Regions from separate parts of the Homo sapiens genome. Here region 1 is linked to region 2. The links are contacts of gene promoters, found by promoter capture Hi-C in blood cells and fetal thymus (Javierre and others, 2016). All regions are on one chromosome and are shown on one strand. The core of a region is centred on a gene start or on the middle of the fragment in contact, and the rest is flanking DNA. Distances in the headings are between cores, read along the strand shown.

Region 1 (5,293 bases), core at 2,686-5,185, 270 kb before region 2:
ACGCCACTGCACTCCAGCCTGGGCGACAGAGTGAGACTCCCAACTCAAAAAAGAAAGGAAGAGGGAAAGACACAAAAGACAAGAAGAGAAGGCAGAGATGGGAGCCTGGGAGAAACCTTATTTTCAAGTTACTCACACCCTCCCCTCTTCCCACCCAAATTCTACCTGAGACATCTATTCAAGAGGCACACATCCTAAAAATCACCATCTGTCTACATTTTAAAATATGTCCTTCTCAAAGTAAACTCTGTTCTCCTTATCCTTTGCTCCTCTGTACCCATGAGAAGAGAATTACTTCTGAAGCCTGAATCCCTGGATACATCAACACCTCTCCGTTTTGACCTTCAGAGGTGGCCCTGAAGAGCGTGGCCTCATAACATACTCAAATGGGACTTAGAGCTCCCAACCCTCTCATTTCTGCTTTTACCATCAGAACCAGCTTCAAGACAAATGCTCAACCCATAAAGTCTCACCACCCCCATAAAAAGCAAACCAGCAAAAGGAAAAAATACTCACAACAAAACATCCTACATACCTAGGGATGTGCCCATCTGAAATTCTAGTTCTGCAAAATCTGGATCTCTTCCTATCTTGGAACAACCTTTCTTCCCCACCCTGTTACCGGCTCCCCAGACAACCCTCTGCTACCAACCCTAATCCCATGCATTCCTTCCCAGCACACAGCAGCCTGGTGGGCTCACATGCCAGCACCCTAACCCCAGTCAACAGCAGGTCAGAATTCTACTCACATTCAGCACATCTTGCCTGGGCTGTGGAGGTTCGATACACGTCAGGAGCCTGAGCAACAAATCCATGATAGCAGAAGTTCCTATGTGCTTTATAATAAGGTCTACAAAATCATGCTTCTTCTTTAAGAAATCCACAATCTAGAGAAGAACAGATCAGAAACTGAAAGACATGTAACTTGGAAACTATAAACTTTACCTTTTAAGTCCCAACCCCGACTCCTCCAAATTCTACCACTACTTTAGGTTGAGAAATGGCAAATGCTGAATTAGCAACAAGGTATCAAATTGGAAAGCCTGGCTAATAGTTACAATACTCAAAATACCCCTTGGAAAAAAATCCCCTAAATTAGCACGTCCATTAATACAAATACAACTTAACAGAATCTTTTATTTCTATTCACTTTCATTATTCATTCTCAAAGAATGGTGATCAAAAATTTAATATGCCTATAAAGAGCAAGAGAATATACCATTTTACAGTTTATGAACATAAAGCATGTCTGTTAGATTTTGCACTAAAATAAGTAATATTCAAAATCCTAACTGGACTCTAACAAGCATGAGAAAAAAATTTCAAAACAAAGATTTCTACTCTAGTCAAAATAACTAACTCACCTGGCTACACAAACATCGCCTTTGATTTTGACTTCACCAATTTACTCCAATAGCTTAGCACAAGAAGGGCAGCTGGTGGAGAGGCAGAGAGCTACCCTGAAGGAACGTGAGAATGGCCACGGAAATCAGGCCCCTGCTGCTGGTCTCTTCTGCTCTGGGAGACCAGGGAGATGACTCTGTCCCATGCATCCCTGTGTCCCATACAGCCTTGTTGCCTCTGCCTCTGTCCATGCGCACGTGTCATCTATTCCCAAACCCTCTGCGAGTCCCAGGGGGAGTGTCGCAGCTGCTATATAACAGGATCTCACTGAAATTTCTCAAAAGCTCTGGGGCGTGGGGGGTTGGATAACTCACCCCCACCGCCACACCCCATTAGAGATGAGGAAACCAAGGCTCAGAAACTATCTTCCAGAGCTAAAAGGTGGCTGCCTGGGATTTAAAATTGGATATGTATGCCACAAAAGCCACAATCTTTCCATTATGCCACATGAAGTCTAATAGCCAGAAATGACAACTAAAACTGCTTCATACAATTAGGTATAAATACAGGATTAACCAACACACATTGCTTCTCTAGACAATGAGGTCAAGCATTATGATATAAAACTTCAAGAAATGATATGACACATAAATAATTCACTCACAATTGGATCCCACAAGTTTTTAAAAGGACAGTAGAGGAGAAAGGACGAAAAAAGTCACATGTGTCCCAAGTATTCCGTAATTCAGTGCCAGAAACACCAAACCTGGAGCCCAAAGGAATAAATCCCAGCTAGTGTGGTGGACAGTACAGCACTGTCAACAGGGACCTGTGGCACAGATGACCCCGCTGGGGTGCTGACTCATGCAGCACTGAAGATGCCCCACCATCCGACTTCCTGTTCCATGAGCTAACAAATGCCTTTATTGGTTAAGCCAGTTGAGTCTCAATTTTTGTCCTTACAGTTGCATACACCCCTACTAATACTATCACATAACAGAAAACCTTTATTTACACTCCTAATTGGCAAAGGATAAAGAAATGCCAAGTTTGATCTTAACTCACAGCCACTGAATCCTCTTGCTATCATTCATACAGTCCTGACAGGGAAGTGTAACAAGCAAAAGGCCGAAGGGCTCTTGTCTCAGAACATAACTGGCAAGGTTTTAAGTGTATTCTCTCTCTTTATGTGTACACTGAAAATCGGGGCTCGCCAACTTGGATTCCAACAGCACAGAAGTGAGGAGAAAAAGCACAATGAAGCATAATGTCTGGATAATGGCTACAACAACCATCCCTGAGAACTGCCTGGTAATATCAGGGTGATAGGATGGCTTCCACTCTCCTAAAACAGCCAGCAGTTCTTGTATTTCTAACTAGAAGGCAGAAAAAAAGAGACAATCTACATTAATCATGATTTGGGGATTATTACCAAAGTGAAAAGAATCTCATTTCCAATCAACTTAGAAAGCTTATCCTACTCCATTAAGTGAAAGAAAGAAATATCTCTTTCTAAAATAAAGCATGTATCCACTTTGCCTTGGCATAGGACAGGACACACTGGGCCCAAAATAGCTCCAGTCCTTCCACAAGTGCTGATAGCAACAATGGGTCACCCAGAGCCATTTTCTATCATGAAGGATGGCAGGACCAACTGGTTTGACCACTTTTGCCCCGTATCATCACACCTATACTTGCAATTCTGGCAAATCTGCTATAGTTTATACTTGAATATCTGAGGCTCTAGTTGTTCCCTGAGTGCCTATTTCCATAAAATGACTAAAATCTCCAGATAAGCAGATCCTTTTTCACAACAATATCCACTAAAGCGGTGGTTCTCAAATGTTAGCATGCATCAGAGTTAGCTGGAAGGCTTGCTAAAACCCAGACTGCTGGGCCCATCTCTCAGAGTTTCTGATTCAGCAGGTCTGGAATAGGACTCAAGAACTTACATTTCTAACAAATTCTCAGGTAATACTGAGGGGCTGCTGGTTCAGGGACCACACTTAGAGAACCAAGTGAAGTTTCTGTCAAACCACACTGGATAGGAACAGCACAGCTGCAAATGTACACAGCAGTCTATACACTCAGATGTCTCAAGCCTGACACTGGAGAAGTTTTGAGTAGAATCAAAACAGAATCACCATTAGTACAAACCAATCACCAATTACATTTGTGGGAAAGGTTTTTGGTTTAAGCTTCATCTCTGATCATCAATGGGGGAAAAACAAAACAAAGCAATTGTTTGGTGACATATTCAACTGCTTAGTTATTATACTTGCCATCTTAGTTAAGCCCTGTCTTCACAAATGGGTACCCAATATTCTCATCTTCTACCCACTTCTCAAAAGAGGAAACTAAAGTATGCTAACAAATTAAGTGAAATTTGAGATTATGCCATATTAGAAATATTCATTAACATACAAATAGTATGTGAGTGCTTAGAATGTTTAAGGTTTAAAATACATTCTCTTATACAACCTGAACTTAAGGCAAAGTTAGAACTCTTAAAGCAACAAGTACTGGGGGATCACCTCAAGGGGATGATCAGCCCTAATACTTACCTTTTGGAAAATCATATTTACCTGTTCTGGTTTTCTGCTGATAAGAATACTTAGCACCTTGCTGAAGAAACTGGCAAGTAGTGGATTCAAAGGGGAATCGTTTAGGAGGAAGCTATATAATTTCATTAGCAAGGATTCATCTTCTCCCAGTCTATCATTCATCTGGGAGACATCAGAAGTGAGCAACTCACAAGATATATTTGGATACCTAGAAGAACAGGATATTTACATCATCATCTTTATTAACAGTTTAATTACATAAAGATAAACACAAATCAGAAAGGCTTCCCAAGATTTTGTGAAAAAAATAAAATCGTTTACTGGAAATCAGGAAATCATTTCAATCCATTCTGTTCAACCTACCTCCAGACTAAAATAAATTTTCTACTATCTAAAAAATTGTTTTTAAACCAAGCTTTAACAAGAATACATTTTCCCTGAAGAAACTAGAGCGCACCTAGTACTCAGAAGCCCAGAGAGGTCATGCTGCAGGGCCCGGGCCTTCTCCACGATCAGCGAGGAAAGCGGCTGGACGTACGAGCCATCAGGCTACAGCCTCCTCTGGCATGGGAAGCAGCAAAGCTTGCGGACAACTGTGGAGGACACTGGTTTCCAGGAAACTGCACTGCATGCAGCACCTTGTAATGACTTAAGGCACTCTGTAGGGACCTGGACCAGCCTTTATCTTTAGATGGGTTGTAAATGGTACTAAGTCTATATTACATCTTAAGAGAGTAAGCATCCTACTATAATGAAGGGGGGAACAGGACATCAGCCTGGGCTACCAAGGCAGGAAGCAGTATACAAAAAAAATGTTGTCCTAGCTATTTAGGAGGCTGAGATTAGAGGATCACTTGAGCCCACAAGTTTGAGGCTACAAAGAGCTATGACTGTTGCACTCCAGCCTGGGCAAGAGTGAGACCTTGTGTCAAAACCAAAACAAAACAAAACTAGTGCTCTCCACATCAGCCTTCCAGTATCTGGATATCAGCACAGACACAAAGTCAGCCCACCATGAGTCTTCACCATGCTGTCTCTCCTGTAGAAGGCCCACGGCTAAGAACATGACACCTGCTCTATATGGACCCACACAGGCTCTTCTACAGACCCCATGGCTTTAGAAATGCTTGCCTCTGACAACCAGACCACTGACCCTCTGCAAACAGGCAGCAGGTCCATTTCCTCCACTTACTCCTACTATGACAATCTCGTGTCTGTTTTCACTAGCAACAACAGAGACGTTGAGCCTATCCAGACGATACTCTAGCTGACCCAGAATTACTCTGCTCTTACACTCCTCCCTGCTGGACAGCCAGGACCCAGCGCCCCAACAAGTCATCAGGAGTGGCAAGCTCAAAAGCTGAGCAAGACAGAGAGATGGCAAA
Region 2 (4,827 bases), core at 1,862-4,361:
TAAATAAAGCATCTTTAATAGAAACACACACACAAAAACAAAGTTATGTATATTGATCTGTTGATAAAAATGTTGTGATCAGAGGTTCACAGGAACCTAACCCTGTATCTTCCCTAGGAGCTGTGGTTTCCAAGGAGCAGTATTTGCTAAGTCCGTGTACTGGGTGACTTTATTCAACATAACTACTGCAAATACCAGAATTGACTATGATGAAACGGAGGCACAGAGCCTAAGCCTCTTGTTTGTTGTCATTTAGCAAAAAAATGAAGGATCTGAAGCCAGGCAGTGCCATTCCAGAGCCCTAACTTTCAAATGTCATATCTACAAGGTCTTACATTCAAATAACATTGTAAATTCAACAACAAAGAGACCAAGCTCCAAGTTTATTCAGCTATTTCTGCACAGAAGGCACCTGAAATGATCTGTGCCTGGAAACAAAAGGTAGAGGATGTAAGTGTATCATTCTCTATTTTATCCACAGCCCTCAGAAGCAGCTGGTCTGCCTGGCTTTACTCTCCATAACACTCCACAGAACAGTTTTGCAGTTCCCAGAGCTGTGCCTTCAATGGACACTAGGTTTCAGGTGACCAAAGATGCTATCAGAGAATATGACTTTCTCATAGGAGAGAATGAGTTTCCCGGTATGTTGGACCATCTCAGCCAGATATTTCTGTGTCAGAAACCCATCAGTAACACTCTAGACTGGAGATCAGCAAATAGATTCTGTAAAGGGCCAGAGAGTAAATATTTTAGGACTTGTGAGCCATATAGTCTCTACAACTAGTCGACTGTGCCCTTTTATCATCAGATAATACCTAATGAAGAGGCATGACTCTGTTCCAATAGAAATTTAAGAAAGCAGATGGGCTGGGCGCGGTGGCTCACGCCTGTAATCCCAACACTTTGGGAGTCCAAGGCGGGCGGATCACTAGGTCAGGAGATCAAGACCATCCTGGCTAACATGGTGAAACCCCGTCTCTACTAAAAATACAAAAAATTAGCTGGGCGTGGTGGCGGGCGCCTGTAGTCCCAGCTACTCGGGAGGCTGAGGCAGAAGAACGGCGTGAACCCGTGAGGCGGGGCTTACAGTGAGCCGAGATGGCGCCACTGCACTCCAGCCTGGGCGACAGAGCAAGACTCCGTGTCTAAAAAAAAAAAAAAAAAGCAAGCAGATGGAGGTCTAGCTGCCCAGCTGCTCTAGAGGAGAGGCTGTGTCTTATGTTTGTAATTTCAGCCCCAGCAGTAAAAATTGTCCCTATGTTGCCAAAGAGGAAATGAAAACAGAGTCACAGTCATTGATTTTTTTTTTTTTTTTTTTTTTTTTTTTTAGAAGGAGTCTCGCTCTGTCGCCCAGGCTGGAGTGCAGTGGTGAGATCTCGGCTCACTGAAGCCTCCCCCTCCCAAGTTCAAGCAATTTTCCTGTCTCAGACTCCCGAGTAGCTGGGAATACAGGCACACGCCACCACGCCTGGCTAATTTTTATATTTTTAGTAGAGACGGGTTTCACCATATCGGTCAGGCTGGTCTCAAACTCCTGACCTCAGGTGATCCGCCCGCCTTGGCCTCCCAAAATGTTGGGATTACAGGCGTGAGCCACCGCGCCCAGCCCAGTCATTGATTTTTGAAAAGGGCAGGCAAAGAACTAAAATCTGCCTGCCGATTGTATATTTTCACTTCTGGAGTGAGCCTCAATACTGTACTTCATGTTAGATCCGAACTAGTTGGAAAAATTAAAGCAAATACATAGTGAAAGGATCTGATCTTCACATGATCCAACCGGCGTTGGGTCTCAGCAAACCCAACTTTGCAGGTTAAATTCCACACATGAACTGTGGTTGAACTGGGGATGGTGGTGGTGACATCAAATCGCATTTCAGGTGCTCCCAGAGCTCGGAGTGGATGGTAGATCCTGTCTTTGCCCAATCTCAGCTTTCTGTGTCTCTTAGCTTCCTAGCCGAAGACCCCAAGGCAGGTTATAAAACTGGAAATAAAGTCTTGGTTTGCTCCTGTGAAATCATCCTTCGCAGACAGGTTTTGGTTTGGACCGGGGGATGCCTGAGGGTCTTATACAGACTGGGATTCAGTCACAGAACTACTAACTTGCAAAGCCTATTTCTTTCTTTCTTTTTTTTTTTTGGAGACAGAGTCTCGCTCTGTCGCCCAGGCTGGAGTGCAGTGGCACGATCTCTGCTCACTTCAACCTCCACCTCCCAGGTTCAAGCAATTCTCCTGCCTCAGCCTCCCGAGTAGCTGGGACTACAGGCGCACGCCACCACGCCCGGCTAATTTTTTGTATTTTAGTAGACACAGGGTTTCACCATGTTGCCCAGGCTGGTCTCGAACTCCTGAGCTCAGATAATCCGCCCGTCTCGGCCTCCCAAAGTGCTAGGATTACAGGCAAGAGCCACCGCGCCTGGCCTGCAAAGCCTATTTCTAACCAAAGTCAAGTCCCACACACTTGCCTCTAAATTGCGTTTTGCTCCTTTGTTATCCCAGGTTTTACAATTACAGAGCACTTGATGAGCCTGTTTCCACGTCTGTAAAATGAGGCGAAGTTCTTCACTGTGCTATTGCAGAATTAAGCCACTGGCTCTATAGGCAAAGTGCTTAGCACGGGCGTGGCACGCTGCGGGTGCACAGAAACGCTCGCTGCCACCCCACCCTTAACTACCGGGCACCCCAGCGCCCCGCCAGGGGCTGAAGAAACGTGGGAGGAAGCGGAGGAACGCGAAGGGCGTGTGCCCGCGAAAGGTCTCACGAGGCGTTTCGAGGTCGCCTCTTCAGGCTCGGCTGCCGACAAGGTGCCTCTGAGCTCACCCAGCCCAACCCGCGCACCCCGGGACCCCAAGACGGCAGCGGGCACAGCTGGGCAGCAGAGACCCGGGAACACCCACTTCCGCCACAGACCTGCTCAAAATAGCTCCTTCTGGCAGCGCGCAAGAAGTGGCCCGAGCCGGCCCCGGGGAGGCGGGGCCTGAGAGCAGACAACCCCCCCACTTCCGGCTCGCCTCCGTTCGCCACAGGCCCCGCCGCAGCCGCTCTTCGCCCCGGCCAGCAGGCCCGCCCCGCCCTCCGTGACGTCATTTCCGGCGTTTGGGCGGGGCCCGGGCAGGGCGCGCTGCCCGGAGCTGCCTGGGTTGCGCTGCCGGCCACGTCCCCGCGCCGGGCCTCAGGCTCCTTCCTACTGTCCGAGGGCCACCAGGCCGCCGGGGGCCTGCTGCGCCCGGGTAAGGGGCTCGCACTGCCGTCCGGGTAGCTGCTGTCAGGGCTCCCTGACTGGCTTGGGACTGAGAGACAGAGGTTGGGGGGCAGGAGGAGGGTTGGATGGGGGCACGAGGGGCAGTGGGAGAGTGAGTGGGGCTGAGAGAGGCAGGAGGAACGGGACAGGAGGAGCGGCGGATGGGGCACGCACAGAGTGCAAGACGCTGAGCAATGCAGGTACTGAAGAAGTCAACTGGGGGCCGAGCATGGCTGGGGGCCCAAGAGACAGGAGGAGGGAGGAGGGCCGAAGGGGGCCCAGACTGGAGAAGAGGCCGGCTTGTCCCATTGTGGGAGCAGAATGGGGACACTCTGGAAGGGGGCCGAATTTGTCCTGGGGTCTTTCCCGGGCAAGCCCAGGACGGGACTGGACCCCAAGAAGTGTCGCTCTTACTTGAGTGACACAGACCTATCCCCCAGACCCTCTCTCTACCTGGGTGGAGGTTGTGCATTGCCCCAGATTCCCTCCCCTGCCCATCTGTCTCCCTGCCTGCTTCCCCCGTGCGAGTCACTTAGTAGCCCCCGTGTGGCTGCTTAGCATGTTGACTTAATCGTTAGGCTGATAGGAGGAATCGGCCTCCACACGCATGGTTTGCCACCAGAAATAATCATCGTGCTTAGAAATCTGACTGTAATAACTTGCAGCTATCCCTCGCCCCAGGAAAATCTCTAACATTTCGATAAAATCAGCTAGGAAAATCTTTAAAATACAGATGTTTCCATTTATACAGTGGATCTGCCTAATGGACAAAGGAATGTCAGAGCTACCCACGTTCTTAGCAAAAACTAGGCCCTAGTATTTAGCTGTGTTACCAAAACTTCCAGAAACCTGGAAGCAAGCAAGGTAGTTAATGTAATATAATAAATGTCCAATGTTCTAGGTTCCCGTCTGCCACAGAGTCACATCCTTTGGACTACAGGACAATGTCTATATACACAAAGCCATAAGTCTGTGTTCCTTGGGCTTCTGCTACCAAAGTTCAGCCAGGTGACGTGTCAGGATTAGGTACCTGCAGTTTGCCCTGTATTTGTGTTTGCAGTTCCTACTCCTTGGTATCTGTAGCTTGCCTAACTTGGTGTGGGGGCCTGGCCATGTTGCGGCTGAGTGAGTCTTAATAGCCTGATAGAATGTGGGGGTAACAGCTGTAGTCCTTTACCAAGCTTCAGGATTGGTCTTTGGAACCTCTCTATGCCAGAAAAAAAGAATTAAGTTATTTCTTTCCCTTTTTTTTTTTTTTTAAGAGATGGGGTCTCACTATGTTGCCCAGGCTGAACTCAAACTTCTGGGCTTGTAATCCTCCCACCTCAGCCTCCTGAGTGTCTGGGATTACAGGCATGCAGCACCACGCCTGGAGTCCAGTTTTGTGTAACTTGCATAAAGTGCGCCACATATAACAAGCCAAGGTTCGGAACACAAGAATTCAGACAAGATGCCTTGGGAGGCATCTCGAGGTCATGAACCAGAAAAGGATAGGGAGGTTGACACCCAGGGGCATAGTTGGGGGTGCCTTTGTCATGGAGTGTCACATGGCTCAAGGGAGTATCCTGTTGCACCTTCCTTGCAGATCC

Evidence for each region. Contacts are between HindIII fragments. The CHiCAGO score rates a contact against its expected background, and 5 or more counts as called.
Region 1: a fragment that was not itself captured here is called in contact with the fragment with the promoter of C11orf24 in region 2 in 1 of 17 cell types (endothelial precursors); the score reaches 5.5 in endothelial precursors.

The regions. Positions count from the first base shown.
Region 1 is chr11:68,543,661-68,548,953 of GRCh38, reverse strand. It overlaps PPP6R3 (protein phosphatase 6 regulatory subunit 3), which reads right to left. Exons shown (of 24, transcript NM_001164161.2): 4 at 3,930-4,116; 5 at 750-887. Among named protein-coding and RNA genes, the nearest start is that of PPP6R3, 86 kb to the right of the region's middle. RefSeq lists enhancers at 4,703-5,203, 5,204-5,293. The HindIII fragment of the contact is 781 bases long and covers 3,545-4,325 here.
Region 2 is chr11:68,270,257-68,275,083 of GRCh38, reverse strand. It overlaps C11orf24 (chromosome 11 open reading frame 24), which reads left to right and starts at 3,111. Exons shown (of 4, transcript NM_022338.4): 1 at 3,111-3,227. It overlaps LOC105369363 (a long non-coding RNA gene), which reads right to left and starts at 2,982. Exons shown (of 3, transcript XR_950248.3): 1 at 2,908-2,982. RefSeq lists silencers at 975-1,034, 2,914-3,313 and an enhancer at 2,148-3,002. The HindIII fragment of the contact is 7,211 bases long and covers 1-4,421 here.